2 separate regions of the Homo sapiens genome follow, and region 1 is linked to region 2. The links are contacts of gene promoters, found by promoter capture Hi-C in blood cells and fetal thymus (Javierre and others, 2016). All regions are on one chromosome and are shown on one strand. Each heading gives the region's core, a stretch centred on a gene start or on the middle of the fragment in contact. The rest is flanking DNA. Distances are from core to core; before and after follow the strand shown. Region 1 holds the start of HEATR1 (HEAT repeat containing 1). Region 2 holds the start of PRRC2C (proline rich coiled-coil 2C).

Region 1 (6,973 bases), core at 1,354-3,853, about 65 Mb after region 2:
CGAGGTCAGGAGTTTGAGACCAGCCTGGCCAACGTGATGAAACCCCATCTTTACTAAAAAAAAAAAAATACAAAAAATTAACTGGGCGTAGTGGTATGTGCCTGTAATCCCAGCTACTTGGGAGGCTGAGGCAGGAGAATTGCTTGAACCTGGGAGGTGGAGGTTGCAGTGAGATGAGATCGTGCCACTGCACTCCAGCCTGGGCGACAGTGCGAGACTGTCTCAAAAAAAAAAGACATACATATTGGGAGAATAAATAAAACAAAAATGTGTATGCTGTGATGTGACACCAATATGTGAGAAAATAAACTAAGCTTACTGAGACAATTCCCAAAGCAGATAAAAGATCAGACCTTGGAAATAAACTTCAGCTGTATCCTAGCTCTGCCACTTACTAGCTGTGTGACTCAAGAAACTTAATCCCTCTAAGCCTCAGTTTTCTCAACTGTAAAACAAGGATAATACAAATAATCTCACCAGAGGAATGCTGTGAGAATTAAATGAGATAATGCAGATAAAGTGCTTACCAGGGCCTAGTGTATAAATGCTCAAAAACACATTAGCTATCATTGTTTTTCTCAAGCAATGGTATTTCAGAGGATAACATTGCCTGCTTCCCCAACCATCTTGTTATTTTGCCAAGAAAGCAGCTTAGTACTCACTGCCTCAAGTGTGCAGGAACAAGCTGTAATGGCAAAGTAGCATGGGCTCTTCAGAACTAACGAGGTTAGGCTGGGCGAGGTGGCTCACACCTGTAATCCCAGTATTTTGGGAGGCCGAGGCGGGTGGATCACCTGAGGTCAGGGGTTAAAGACCAGCCTGGCTAACACGGTGAAACTCCATCTCTACAAAAACACAAAACTCATCCAGGCATTATGGCAGGTGCCTGTAATCCCAGCTACTTGGGAGGCTGAGGTGGGAGAATCACTTGAACCTGGGAGGCAGAGGTTGCAGTGAGCCAAGATTTCAATATTGCACTCCAGCCTGAGTGCCCAGCAAGACTCTATCTCAAAAAAAAACTAATGAGGTTAGACCATTTACTCAAAATCACCAGTAGTTCTACTTTTCACTATCAACAAAAAAGAATTTAAAGGCAGAAGAGCATGCTTATCTCACACAATGGACATTGTATCAATCTCTTAATATACCTAATTTTTCAGCTTTAATTTGATAAGTTCTCAACTACTTAATTTTTTACAAGACCAAAGTGATTAACCCATAGTTATTTCTGTAATTCTATTAGCTACCTGTGAATCAACCACTCCAGACACTTCTGTGCTGGCTTAAGCAGGAAGTAAGGCGACAAGTGAATAAGGAATAATGAAATGTTTTCATCCAACTGTTTGTTTACTGCTTTGGTCTGAACACTTCGCTCCAAGGTTTTTGCTAGCTGACTGAACAACGGTGCTTCAAACTGCTCAAAGGAAGGATCAATTCCAAGCAACTCTTCCAGGCCAGTACATCCTAAATTTCAAAAAAGGCCAGTTTATTTAACAATTCTTCGTAAGCAAATTCATCCCACCCCTCTTTTACAGTTTTACTTACCCCTAAGAAGTTTCTGAATTCTTTAAGTACATATAATTTATAATACAGTCCCAAACACTGATTTCTAGTTTTCAACTTTTAGAGTAAATCCTATCTCATCTACTAGAACAGAAAGTACTTCGTGGCAGGGAACACTTTTTTTTTTTTTTTTTTGGATATCCCCTACAATAACTAGGCCAGTCCTCTGAGAGGACTTCTCCGTCACCCCAGTCACTGCCTCCATCCCCCTTTTAGCTGTTCTTCTCTTTGACATATTAGTTGACCTCTCTAATTTTGTTTCTTCATCTGTGAAATCCAGATACCTCTACTCATAAACATTTCAAGCACCAAGCACCTGACTGTTATGTTCTCTTTCCCTTAAAAATATACATCAACATGCTAGAAACTGCTAAGGAAGAGGACGGGACAGAAGAGAAAACAAGGGGAAAAAAAAAAAACAGTAACATCCAGAAAACAAACGCTTCCAAGAGCTTTTCTAAGTTAAAAGATGGCTCACCAATGGCGAAGGCGGTGTCCCTGTCGATTGTGGCCGCTTCCTTAGGGTCAAATAACAAAGAAGCAACTTCATCTCTAGATAAGAGGCTGGCATCACTTTGAGGGAGGGCGAGTCGTTGCAGCTGCTGGGCTAAGGACGTCATCTTTCACGCCAGCGGAGTTTTAATGACACGGGCTAAAAAAACGTAAGCACTTTGATAAGTTTCTACGAAATTATAAGGCGCCTCGTAAACAAACAATTCTCTTCTGCACTCAGCACCGTCATGGACACACAACGCGGGTGTCCTGAGATTTGTGGACCCCGGAGATGCAAAGACGATGGCAGCAGCGTTAACAACTAATTACAGTAGCGGCGACCGCGCCAAGGCTTTCCTTCAACCCTGATTCCGCAGATATCCGGAAAACTCTTACCCTCCCTCGATATGCCGCCCCCATCCGCAGCCACATCAAGCGGCTCTGTGCCGCTTACCTGGAACTGGGAATTTGGGTATATCTTGGAAGGCAACAACTCTTCACAGCGCTTCCCACATGGTACCAAGGAGCCCAACCCTCACCCGGAAACCTAAGGCATGCTGTAGAGCAACTTCCTGCTGCAGGCGCTACGGCAAGTGAAGAGGTTCAAGCTTGCCGGGAATGCGACGAGACAGCTCCGCCTCCCGAGACGAAAGCCCGCCCCTCAGCCCGCCGGACTCAGGCTCAAGTCTGAGCTTCGCCTCTGTAGCTCCGGTTTAGCGGTCTGCTCTGCGGCTTGTGTCTGAAGCTTTCGGTCTCTGGATGGGCCTTCTGTGGGCTTTAAGGATCCGTAGCCAGAATCATTCATTCAGTAGTGATCCAGCCTTTACTAGGTGCCAGCAGCACCGCGTAGTGTTGAAAGCTATGGGTTGTGAAGTCACGTGGTTTGGGTTCAAATCCTGGCGCTGGCGCCTGTCGGCCGGGTTAACGCCACCAAATTATTTCATCTCTCCGAGCTTGTTACTCACTCTACAAAGTGGGAAGAGGCCGAGATTGTCGTGAAAGGAGCTTCTGCTCCTAGTGCAAACCGATCTATAAATGCTGGACTCCACCGCCCCAGAGCTTGGGGGAGATCTTGTCACTCCTCTATGTTTCCATTCCCGAGGGGTAAATGGCATATATTTTTTTCTTTCAAAACGAATCATAGTCAGGCGCGGCCTGTAATCCGAGCACTTTGGGAAGCTCAGGCGAGCTGATCACCTGAGGTCAGGAGTTCGGGACCAGCCTGGCCAACATAGCGAAACCCCGTCTCTACTAAAAATAAAAGAATTAGCCGGACGTGGTGGCGGGCGCCTGTAATCCCAGCTACTAGGAAAGCTGAGACAGAAGAATCGCTGGAACCCGGGAGTCGGAGGTTGCAGTGGGCCAAGATTGCACCACTGCACTCCACAGAGCGAGACTGTCTCAATAAATAAATTAATCGAATCCTGTTGAGGTATAATTTACAAACAATGGTTACACCCACGTCAGTGGAAGAGTTTGATGACTTTTAGCAAATGCATGTATAGGTGTAATGACCTCCCCAGTCAAAATGACAGTTTCCATCGCCCCTAAAAATTGTCTCTTGCCTGTTTGCGAAGATTCCCGCAACCACTGGTCTTGGCCTCACTACAGATAGTGTTGCGGAAGAGTATCCTTATGTATGAATATAGCTAATCTGTTTCCAAAACACCGGTATGCGCTAGAACTAGGATGAACTGACGTCTTCCAGACGAAGGAGTGAGATCTGATGCTCTGTCTTTTCTGGATGCATTAATTTCTCTGAAGAGCTCTGCGGGGCCAGGGGGTCAAGTCTTTCTGTAACCGTCTTCCCTGGAGAATGTCAGAAACACAGCTACAAATTTGGAGGCCCTGGTTGTCTATACCTCATGCAGATTCTCTCCCATTTACAAACAGAATCTTTTGTTGTTGGTTTGCTTTAAAAGCATTTAAAACAACCAAATATTTTCTTCAGTTATTAGTATTTCTACTGACTGTTAATAATCTTCTTTTCATGTGGTGTTGAGTGCCTTGCAGAGAATAACATGAAAATTCTAGTAGTACCTATTTCATTCTTACAAACATATCTCTCAAAGGAATTTTTTTTTTCTTTCTAACATGTCACAGGAGTTTTACCTTTACAGAAGCAATCAGCTTTCGGTACTTTAAAAGAAATGAACACCAGGTCTGTTTCATTGATAAGATAATTTGCTTTTTTTGCTTAAAAAATACCCTATATATTTTTTAAAAGCTTTATTTAAGTGAAACTTGAAAAAGTGCTACAAAGATTTGACTCAGTCCTTCCTATGTCAGCTGTGATGGTGTATAGTGCCATGCCGAATTTTACTTTGGAAAGTAAAAAGGAAAACAAGTCAGATGTTCATAAATGTAATTTTTTTTTAAAAAAAAGCTTTGGTTTTAAAAAAAATGTAATAATCTTGAATTATATATTTTTATCTGACGGACAGATGTACCAAGCTGGTATTTTCTTCATAGCCATTATCACTACTTGAAATGACCTGATTTGTCTGTTTGTTTACCTGTTTATTTCTTGTATTCCCTCACTATAATATTGGCTTCAGCACGTTGGCATAAAGCCCATCCCTAAGACTTATGGAGCCTGAGAAAGAGTACAGATGGACTCACTGCTGTAGGTGTAAATATTTAAAAGTTATAAATTAACTTAACACATTATTAACTAGGATATGCTATAACTCTCAATATTGGTGAGTAAACATTTATAATGGCAAAATAAAAATGTTTTTACATAGATGAAAATCAGCAAAATCTGATTGCATTTAATTATATCATTCCTGTCCGGGTGTCCTATTGATTGGCTGATTATTTTGGATGAGTGATAAAGACATCTATAGTTAATACATTTCCTATATATTTAGCCCATGAAAATTTACCTTCATTTCAGCAAAATTACCATGTATGCTGTTTGATCAAGATTTTCATGTAATTGTGTTCTATCAGAAATAATGATCAAAAAGGATTAAAAATAAAATTTAATTATATTCCAAACATATAGTTTGAATGTTTCAATAAAAATATAAATTAAATTAAAAAGCAATACATTAAATCTTTTTCACTTTTTTCAAAAGATTTACCTTTCTTATAAGATGTAAAGTATAATTAGTGACAATATTTTTTTTTTGTTTTGAGATGGAGTCTTGCTCTGTCGCCCAGGCTCGAGTGTGGTGGCGTGATCTCAGCTCACTGCAACCTCCGCCTCCCAGGTTCAAGCAATCCTCTGCCTCAGCTTCTCAAGTAGCTGGGATTACAGGTGCCTGCCACCACACCCAGCTAATTTTTGTATTTTTAGTAGAGACGGGGTTTAATTAGTGACAAAATTTTAAGTAAAATAATTTAAATAAATCTAAAGTTGTATTTGTTTTTTTGGTAAATATTACTTAATGAAATTGTTCATTAAAGTAAATTACTCACAAGCGTATCATTCAATGTCCACCTAGTTGCCAGTGTAAAGAATTGGTATCACCCTTTGTTCATGTTATGTCTGTATCTACCTATTTTCAAATTTCAGAGTCATGTGAATTGTTTAATATTGTTAAATGTTCCTCAGCAACCATATCTGATTGTTGAGAATTCTACACTAATTCCTGAGTATATCCAGAACCATAAATTGGGGGGAAAAAAAGGAAATAAGAAATTCCATGTTTGGAACTACTTAGATATAATACTTTATAATGCAAAAATATGTTCATGTAGTTTGAAAGGAAAAGTGTGACAAATTAACTTTTCTTTTCTCTTACCTAAGCATTTCTGTATTCAGCATCCTGGTCGGGTCCCGGCCAGGTGCGGTGGCTCATGCCTGTAACCCAGCACTTTGGAGGCTGAGGCGGGCGGCTCACCTGAGGTCAGGAGTTTGAGACCAGCCTGGCCAACATGGTGAAACCCCATCTCTACTAATAATACTAATCCTGACTCTACTAAAAAAAAATTGGCCGGGCGTGGTGGCGCACGCCTGTAATCCCAGCTACTAGGGAGGCTGAGGCAGGAGAATCTCTTGAACCGGGAGGTGGAGGTTGCAGTGAGCCGACATCGCGCCGTTTGCACTCCAGCCTGGGCAACAAGAGCGAAACTCCGTCTCAAAAATAAAACGAAACAAAAAACAAACAAAAAAACAAATTCTCCCTATGCTCTTAGGCAGCGTCCGGAAACAGTACAATCCACGGATATTCAGTGTATTCAGACAGGGTTGTCTTTTACTTTCAGGACAAGGGACAAGAGACCTATTTCCCACAAACTTAAATGCATAAATCATGAGGGTCTATGTTTAGGTTTATAGGTTATGCCACAGTAGTGCTAAATGGCAGGTTTTGAAAGGCAGGTTCCCACATTTTTAAGCAAATTTATTTTGTATGATTTGTGATATGCAGAGATCACGATCTAAGGATGATGTTGAAGACTTTCTCGTGTTTACTACTAAATCCTAACTACCAAATAAAGTACCTGGAACGTGGTTAACAATACATATTTATTTATCGAATGAATGAATGAATATAAATGTGCATAAGCTGTATCTGTATCTCCTTCCTGTTCAAGAAATGTGTATCAGAATTCAAGTGAATAAGTGTAGCATTATTATAGGAATAACTTAGAATTATTCTAACTATAATAAAAGTAAAATTTTCACAAACTTCAAAGTTTAATTATTAGTAGAGTGTTTACATCATATATCACAACTGATGGGATACCATCCACTTGAAAATATATCTGTTGCTGGGCTCAGTGGCTCACGCTTGTAAACCCAGCAGGTTGAGAGGCCAAGGCTGGCATATCGCTTGAGCCCAGGAATTCAAGACCAGTCTGAGCAACATGGGGAAACTCCACCTCTGCAATGAGCACAAAAATTAGCCGGGCATGGTAGCACGCCCTGGGAGGCTGAAAATGGGAGGATCAGTTGAGCCTGGGAGGA
Region 2 (7,291 bases), core at 4,364-6,863:
ATACCCAATTGGTTGGGCAGCAGATACATAAAAAGTCTCGTATACTTTAAGAAATGCTACAAGCGACAGCCAGAGTTACAATTTTAATTTATTGGGCACTGTATTCATATTCATTAGTAATATCTCACGGATCTGCTTTTTGGCCTAAAAATTTAAGAAATTACAATTTTCTGTATCTTCAGTTACCACCTGGCTATTTTCCTTTTTTAAGCTTTTCCTGTTCTGCCTTTGTTGTGGCCCCTTTCCCTTTGTGATCTTCCCCTTCAGATCAGTGCCTTTTATCGCTACTCATTTGCTGACTCAGGTGAATTTACAGCCTAAGGCAAAAATGGGAGCCAGCAAAGTTTGTTTTCTCAGTCTCTCCCCTCTTTCCCTCCCTTCTTCCTGCAGCTCTGTGAGGGACTAAATCTTCCAGATATTCTGTGCTTATTAACAACACAGCACCCTCTTGACTTGGAATCCATAGCTGTAAGAACTTAGTTTCTCCTGTCAGCTAAGAAAACTCTGGGAAAATTTTTGGTGGACAGTAAATGCCAGGTAATCCAAACTTCATTAATTTATGACATAACAAATAAATACAACTTTTAGCCAAACTGTCCCCTTTATTCAATTATAAAAAGTGTTTGCTAAGTCAATAAACAGACTGGTAATTAAAATATTTATCGGCTGGGCGCAGTGGCTCACGCCTGTAATCCTAGCACTTTGGGAGGCCGAGGCGGGTGGATCACCTGAGTTTAGGAGTTCGAGACCAGCCTGGCCAACATGATGAAACACCCTCTGTACTAAAAATGCAAAAATTAGCTGGGTGTGGTGGCGGGCGCTTGTAATCCCAGCTACTCGGGAGGCTGAAGTAGGAGAATTGCTTGAACCCAGGAGACGGAAGTTGCAGTGAGCCAAGATTGTGCCACTGCACTCCAGCCTGGGTGACAAGAACAAGACTCCATCTCAAAAAATAATAATAAAATAAAATAAAATAAAGTATTTATCCTACTTGGCCAGGCGCGGTGGCTCACGCCTGTAATCCTAGCACTTTGGGATGCTGAGGCAGGTGGATTGCCTGAGCTCAGGAGTTCGAAACCAGCCTGGGGAACACGGTAAAGCCCCATCTCTAAAAAAAAAAAAAAAAAATTACGCGGGTGTGGCAGCAGGCGCCTGTAGTCCCAGCTACTCCAGAGGCTAAGGCAGGAGAATGGCTTGAACCTGAGAGGCGGAGGTTGCAGTGAGCCAGGATCACACCACTACACTCCACACTCCAGTCTGGGTGAGAGAGTGAGACTCCGTCTCCAAAAGAATAAATAAATAAATAAATAATTTATCGTACTTTATATATAATGTAAAATTTTACATATAACATATAATATAAACATTATAATGTACTCAACAGATAGCCTCTCACAAGTTGGCCAAAGGTTTTTTTTTTGCGGGGGCGGGGAAGGAGTCTTGCTCTGTCACCCAGGCTGGAGTGCAGTGGCAGGATCTCAGCTCACTGCAACCTCGGCCTCCTGGGTTCCAGCAATTCTCCTGCCTCAGCCTCCTGAGTAGCTGGGACTACAGGCGCCCACCACCACACTCGGCTAATTTTTCGTATTTTTAGTAGAGACGGGGTTTCACTGTGTTAGCCAGGATTGTCTCGATCTCCTGACCTCAGGTGATCTGCCCGCCTCGGCCTCCCAAAGTGCTGGGATTACAGGTGTGAGCCTCCATGCTTGGCCCATTTTTTTCTTAGTTTTTGTTTTTTCTGGACCCCCCGCAAAGGTGATTTGTTGAAGAACTATCAACATTTTTCTTATCTTTATTAGCAAATGTACAACATCTGTTGATGTTTATAAACCGGGATTACATTTTCATGCAGTATTTGGGTATTCTGGTTTTCTTTACACCAGGCTTATCATGTTTCATAGTTTTTAACTAAATATGATTTGCTGGATCATTCATAAAAAGAAAACAAAATTGTCAAATGCACCTAAACACTTAAGAAACACAACTGCTGATCCTTTTGTAGTTCATAAGTGTGATGATTCAGTGTTCACATGAATCTATGAGATGCGCCAACCTCAAACCTTGTTATGACGTGGTCCATTACCCATCTGATGTGAAAATTTAAAATTTTTAAACAAAGAAGAGAGAAAAAAGGAACATTACTGCTAATAAAGTATGATACTTTCACTGATCATTTTGTTTTTAACTACTCTACCGTAAAATTTCAGTGCCTACAGGATTATGGAATCAATCACAATGAGAAGGGTAGAAACTCATTAAATCATTAGCAAATAAGGCTGGACAATCACAAAGAAAATACGTCATATTGTTTGGAGAGTGAATTTGTTTTCAGTAAGAAACTAGTTTGCCTGATTCCACACCACCCAATTGGAAATTTGATAATGTTATTCTAAAATTATTGTTTAAATAGAAGTGTTGTAAATTAAATGAAAAGTTTTCATTCAATCTGTCATGAAGACATTTTTGTTATAACAAATTTGTCTACAATGGTGGAGTGTCAGGAGAAGTGCAATCCAAGTCAAGGAGACTTCAGTCACATTTTCCCCAATAAATTGGAAACAAAGGCAGTAAGACTGCTCTCTAAAAGTTAGACTTTAAGATCACATACATAGCTAGGAGCAGAAATAAGCAAAGTCACCTTTAAAACACAAACTGGTTTGATTTAACTGTAACTTGATTTTTATTGAAATAATATTGCAAAGAGGTTTGGGTAGCCATGGAAACAGAGAAAGTAACGTACAGGGGGCACTTTAGGGTCAGTGGCCATCCAAGTGCTGCTAAGGAGACAAGGAGCACAAATCAGCAGCTCAGCAGGATGTCACCACTATATTGGAGATCAATGCGGGCAACTGCAGCCATTGGAAATTGAGAACTTCTATTTTCGGGACAAAATTCTCCTGTTGTGAAGATAGATGACTCAAGAAAAGTCTATACATATAACTCCACTTGTTCAGAATATGTGCTCATCAAGCAACCTTCTGATAATGCCTTGGTTTCCTGAGTAGGTTTGGCTACACAGAAAATGCACTCAGCGGGGCCAGGCACAGTGGCTCACACCTGTAATCCCAGCACGTTGGGAGGCTGAGGCAGGCGAATCACATGCGGTCAGGAGTTTGAGACCAGCCTGGCCAACATGGCGAAACCCCATCTCAACCAAAAATACAAAAATTAGCTGGGCGTGGTGGCGCCTTTGTGTAATCCCAACTACTCGGGAGGCTGAGGCAGGAGAACCGCTCGAACCTGGGAGGTGAAGGTTGCAGTAAGCTGAGATTACGCCACCTGGACAACAGAGTGAGACTCCATGGGGAAAAAAAAAAAGAAAGAAGGAAGGAAGGAAGGAAGAAAAGGCAGGCAGGCAAGGAAGGAAGGAAGGGAGGGAGGGAGGGGAGGGGAAGGGAGGGAGGGAGGGAGGGGAGGGGAGAAGGAGGGAGGGAGGGGAGGGGAGGGGAGGGAAATGAGAAAATGTACTCAAGAAAAGATAGCACCTTGGGTCCATGCTGGCATACCGGAGGCTTTCTGTTTCTGGCAAAAATTAAAAGAAAAAAAGAAAAAAAAAGTATTGGCTTTGCAGTTGTTGAGTGTTCAGGTGTATAAATTAAAGCTCTTAGAAATTAATAATTTAATACATGTCTTTTTTTTTTTTTTTTTTTTTTTGAGACAGAGTCTCGCTCTCTCGCTCTGTTGCCCAGGCTGGAGTGCAGTGGCAGGATCTGTGCTCACTGCAAGCTCCGCCTCCTGGGTTCACGCCATTCTCCTGCTTCAGCCTCCTGAGTAGCTGGGACTACAGGCGCCCGCCACCACGCCCGGCTAATTTTTTTTTGTATTTTTTAGTAGAGACTGGGTTTCACCGTGTTAGCCAGGATGGTCTCGATCTCCTGACCTTGTGATCCGCCCGCCTCGGCCTCCCAAAGTGCTGGGATTACAGGCGTGAGCCACCGCGCCCGGCCATACGTGTCAGTCTTATGACCTTGGTTAATGTAATTTCATCTGATTGCTGAAGTTGTTCTCCATTGCTCAAGACAGATGATTTGGCTGGGCGTGGTGGCTCATGCCGGTAATTCCGGCACTTTGGGAGGCCAATGCGGGAGGCTTGCTTGAGCTCAGGAGTTCGAAACCAGCCCAGTCAACATAGCAAGACCTCGTCTCTACTGGCAAAAAAAAAAAAAAAAAAAAAAAAAAGCCAGGTTTTGTGGCAAGCACCTGTAGTCCCACCTACCTGGGAGGCTGAGACAGGTGGATTGCTTGAGCCTGGGAGGTTGAGGCTTCAGTGACCTGTGATTATGCCACTACACTCCAGCCTGGGCAGCAAAGTGAGACCCTGCCTCCAAAAAAACAAAGAAAGATGTTTCTGTGACCAGGACACTATAGACCAGATCCTAGAAGGTTGTAGAAATTCACTAAAGTAATGCTTCCTTGTCCTCTTGTGGATGATCAGTAGGCTTTCCCCTGGCAATGACCCTATATCAATAAAAAAACTTTTTCTTTTCTTCTTTTCTATTTTTTCGAGAAAGAGTCTCGCTGCAGCCTCAACCTCCTGTGCTCAAGTGATCCTTTTGCCTCCAGCCTCCCAGGTAGCTAGGACTATAAGCATGTGCCACTATGCCTAGCTAGCTTTTTTTCTTTTTAATTTTTTTGCAGAGGTAGGGTCTCACTATGTTGCCCAGATTGGTCTTGAACTCCTGGTCTCAAGCAATCCTTTTGCCTTGACCTACCAAAGTATTAGTATTACAGGCATGAGCCACCAAGCAAGTCCAGACTTTTCTACTTCAAATTAATATTAGTGGGGAGGGAGGTGTTCATAATTTACCTCTCTTTATTATTTCATTTATTCTAACATTGCTACAGTGACAATTCCATGGACATACACCAGCTACTGGCGGGGAAGATCGTTCAGACCAGAAGTGGTAAGAAATCCTTGAATTTTAAATATGTCATAGGTAGTTCACAAAGAGGACAAAAGATACCATTTACTAAACATTCGCCATCTGTTCTGACATAATATTATCATCATTGTAGTCTCCCACTTCCAGATACACTCATCTGCCTATGTTACACTTGCCTAGTAAAAGCCAGCATGGGTGAATCTTACTATTCAACGGAGCTGAACACTGTGATGGAGAGATCATATAAATAAACTGAATGGCTTATCTCACATCCATAATTAGAAACTTAAAAAGTGCTCTCAGCAGCCCATGCTACTCTGTTCCTCACACTAGTTTTACTTTCACTCTCTGTGATAACTTTTCAATACACCAAGACTTCTCAGCTTGCCCCAAATTCACTGAGACATACTGGCGAACTGCTGGTTCAACCATTTACACATCCACCCACCAGACATAAGAGTGCTCATTTCACTGAGGCTTATTATCAACTTGTAAACGTGGTCAATTCAAGACTTCTTAGAAAGGTCTCAGGTCCAAGCTTTGTCCTGAAAAGATAATTCTGATTGCAGAAACTCCCTCCGTCCAGCAGGAAGCGCCAGCACCCTCTGTCGGGGTTGGGCCGCCACGGAGGCTTCACGTGATCCGGCCGTCTCTGCGCAGGAGTGTGGTCTTGCGGAGATTTGACCTACGTACTTAGCGTCATGACGTAGTACGTAGGGGCTGGCTAGCCGCCATCTTGCTTCTTTTTCTCGCTCGCTCGCTCCCCCTCGGAAAGCTGCGAAAGTGCTTTGGCGGTTTGTCCATCCGCAGCTTCGGCTTTTCCAGTCTGGTGGCCCTTCCGGCCACCCCTTTAACCCCAGCTTTCCCTCCCCCTTCTTTCGATCAGAGATCGGCGGAGACCCTCGAAGTGCGCAAACTTGACACTCACCCTGACCGGTAAGGAAAGCGAGGGTGTGGGGGCCGCGATCAAAGAGGGCCCCATCGGGAACGGCCAGAGTGCGGCCTGGGGCGTGGGAGCGCACCCAGACCCTGGCGCCCGGAGGCTAGGGGGCCGCGTGGAGAGGGCCTTGGGTCCGGGCATTTCCCTTCTGTTTGGTTACCATCATCTCTGTGTCTGGGGAAGTCGGCCTCCAGCTTGGGGAGCGGGAAACCGGAGTCAGACCCGCCCCATGTGGTCTGCAGCGGGAGTTCTGGACCGGTCTGTCTTGCTCCCACCTAGACCCCAGTCCTGGCCCTGCGAGGGGATTACGCATGTTGCCGGGTAAGCGAAGGGGGTTTCCGTCTTCCTGGACTGGCGGACGTGAAGTCTTTTTTTTTTTTTTTTTTTTTTAGTGTCGGGTATGCGTTTCCCCAAACAACTGAAGGACTCAGCCGGGGCTTTCACTGTCTACCTCTTCCTGTGTAGTGAGGGTGGGACTTGCAATGAGCAATGTATGGGAGGGTCTGGTTTAAAGACCTGGTTAGATGAGAGGCTCTTCGGGGAATCAAGACCAACCCTACTTCCGCTAGGGAAGTGCTGCCCAACTCCGGAGGAGGATTTGGGTAGTCTTTTCACACTCTAGGCCGCTCCATCCTCTAACTTGCGTGGTGAATCTCGGTAGCTCCCTGTCTTTGAGATAGCGTTGATATTGGTGGTGTCAGGGTAAAGGCCCCGTTTTAGGACTGAAGAAAAGGGCATGGGGCCACTATAGAGACATTGATAGAGTCTTCCTTCCTTTGCATGAGAGGAGTACCTTTAATTTAAAGGGATGTATGTGTGTTTTGACATTATTTGGGATCTTTTGAGGGTCTGACATGCCTGATGTTTGCTGGCTTATAAAGCTACCTGGATTTCCGCATTGGCTGGTTTTCAGCCTGGGTTCATAGATTCATACCTCGTTAGAGTACTTAGAATTGTACAGTAGGCGGCTCTGCTGTAAGATTTTCATTTGGAATGCACCAGAAGAATCGGAGGATTTTTTGATTGTTGAGTACTTAATAGCTTACTCCTGCAAATAAAAATAATAGGGTGATACTAAGCACCTACCAAGCCTAACCCCACCATTTTTCAAAACTAGATTTCACCTCCCATATTGGTAATTAAGATGCTGCTTTGACTGGAGCCATTTTTAGGTGTGTGTCACAGATGCACTGCAGCATCTTTTCTGGCTCACCCCAAATGCATTGATCCCCTAAAAAATTAGGAATAAATTGAACTTGAATTTTGTCTTTAGCATGTAGTCAAATAGTAATTCTCTCCTTTTCTGTAAGTGGATTTTCAGAATATAGCCTTTTTAAGTGATTGTGTTTGCTCTGCTTAGCTTATGTGTGGCTGTTCTCCATTAGGTGACCTTTTGCTATACACTGAGCACAGTAATAAGTCCTTTTCATACATTTTTTTTTTAATCTCCACAACAGACCTTTGAGAA

What was found. Contacts are between HindIII fragments. The CHiCAGO score rates a contact against its expected background, and 5 or more counts as called.
Region 1: a contact is called between the fragment with the promoter of HEATR1 here and the fragment with the promoter of PRRC2C in region 2, in 1 of 17 cell types (total B cells). The highest score is 6.8, in total B cells.

Annotation. Positions count from the first base shown.
Region 1 is chr1:236,601,913-236,608,885 of GRCh38, forward strand. HEATR1 (HEAT repeat containing 1) reads right to left here and starts at 2,604. Exons shown (of 45, transcript NM_018072.6): 1 at 2,510-2,604; 2 at 2,042-2,215; 3 at 1,248-1,464. The coding sequence starts at 2,183. RefSeq lists an enhancer at 2,545-2,804. The HindIII fragment of the contact is 2,349 bases long and covers 313-2,661 here.
Region 2 is chr1:171,479,917-171,487,207 of GRCh38, forward strand. PRRC2C (proline rich coiled-coil 2C) reads left to right here and starts at 5,614. Exons shown (of 35, transcript NM_001387844.1): 1 at 5,614-5,819. LOC124904828 (small nucleolar RNA U13) reads left to right here and starts at 1,991; the gene lies at 1,991-2,093. RefSeq lists enhancers at 5,203-5,512, 5,419-6,167. The HindIII fragment of the contact is 3,004 bases long and covers 5,420-7,291 here.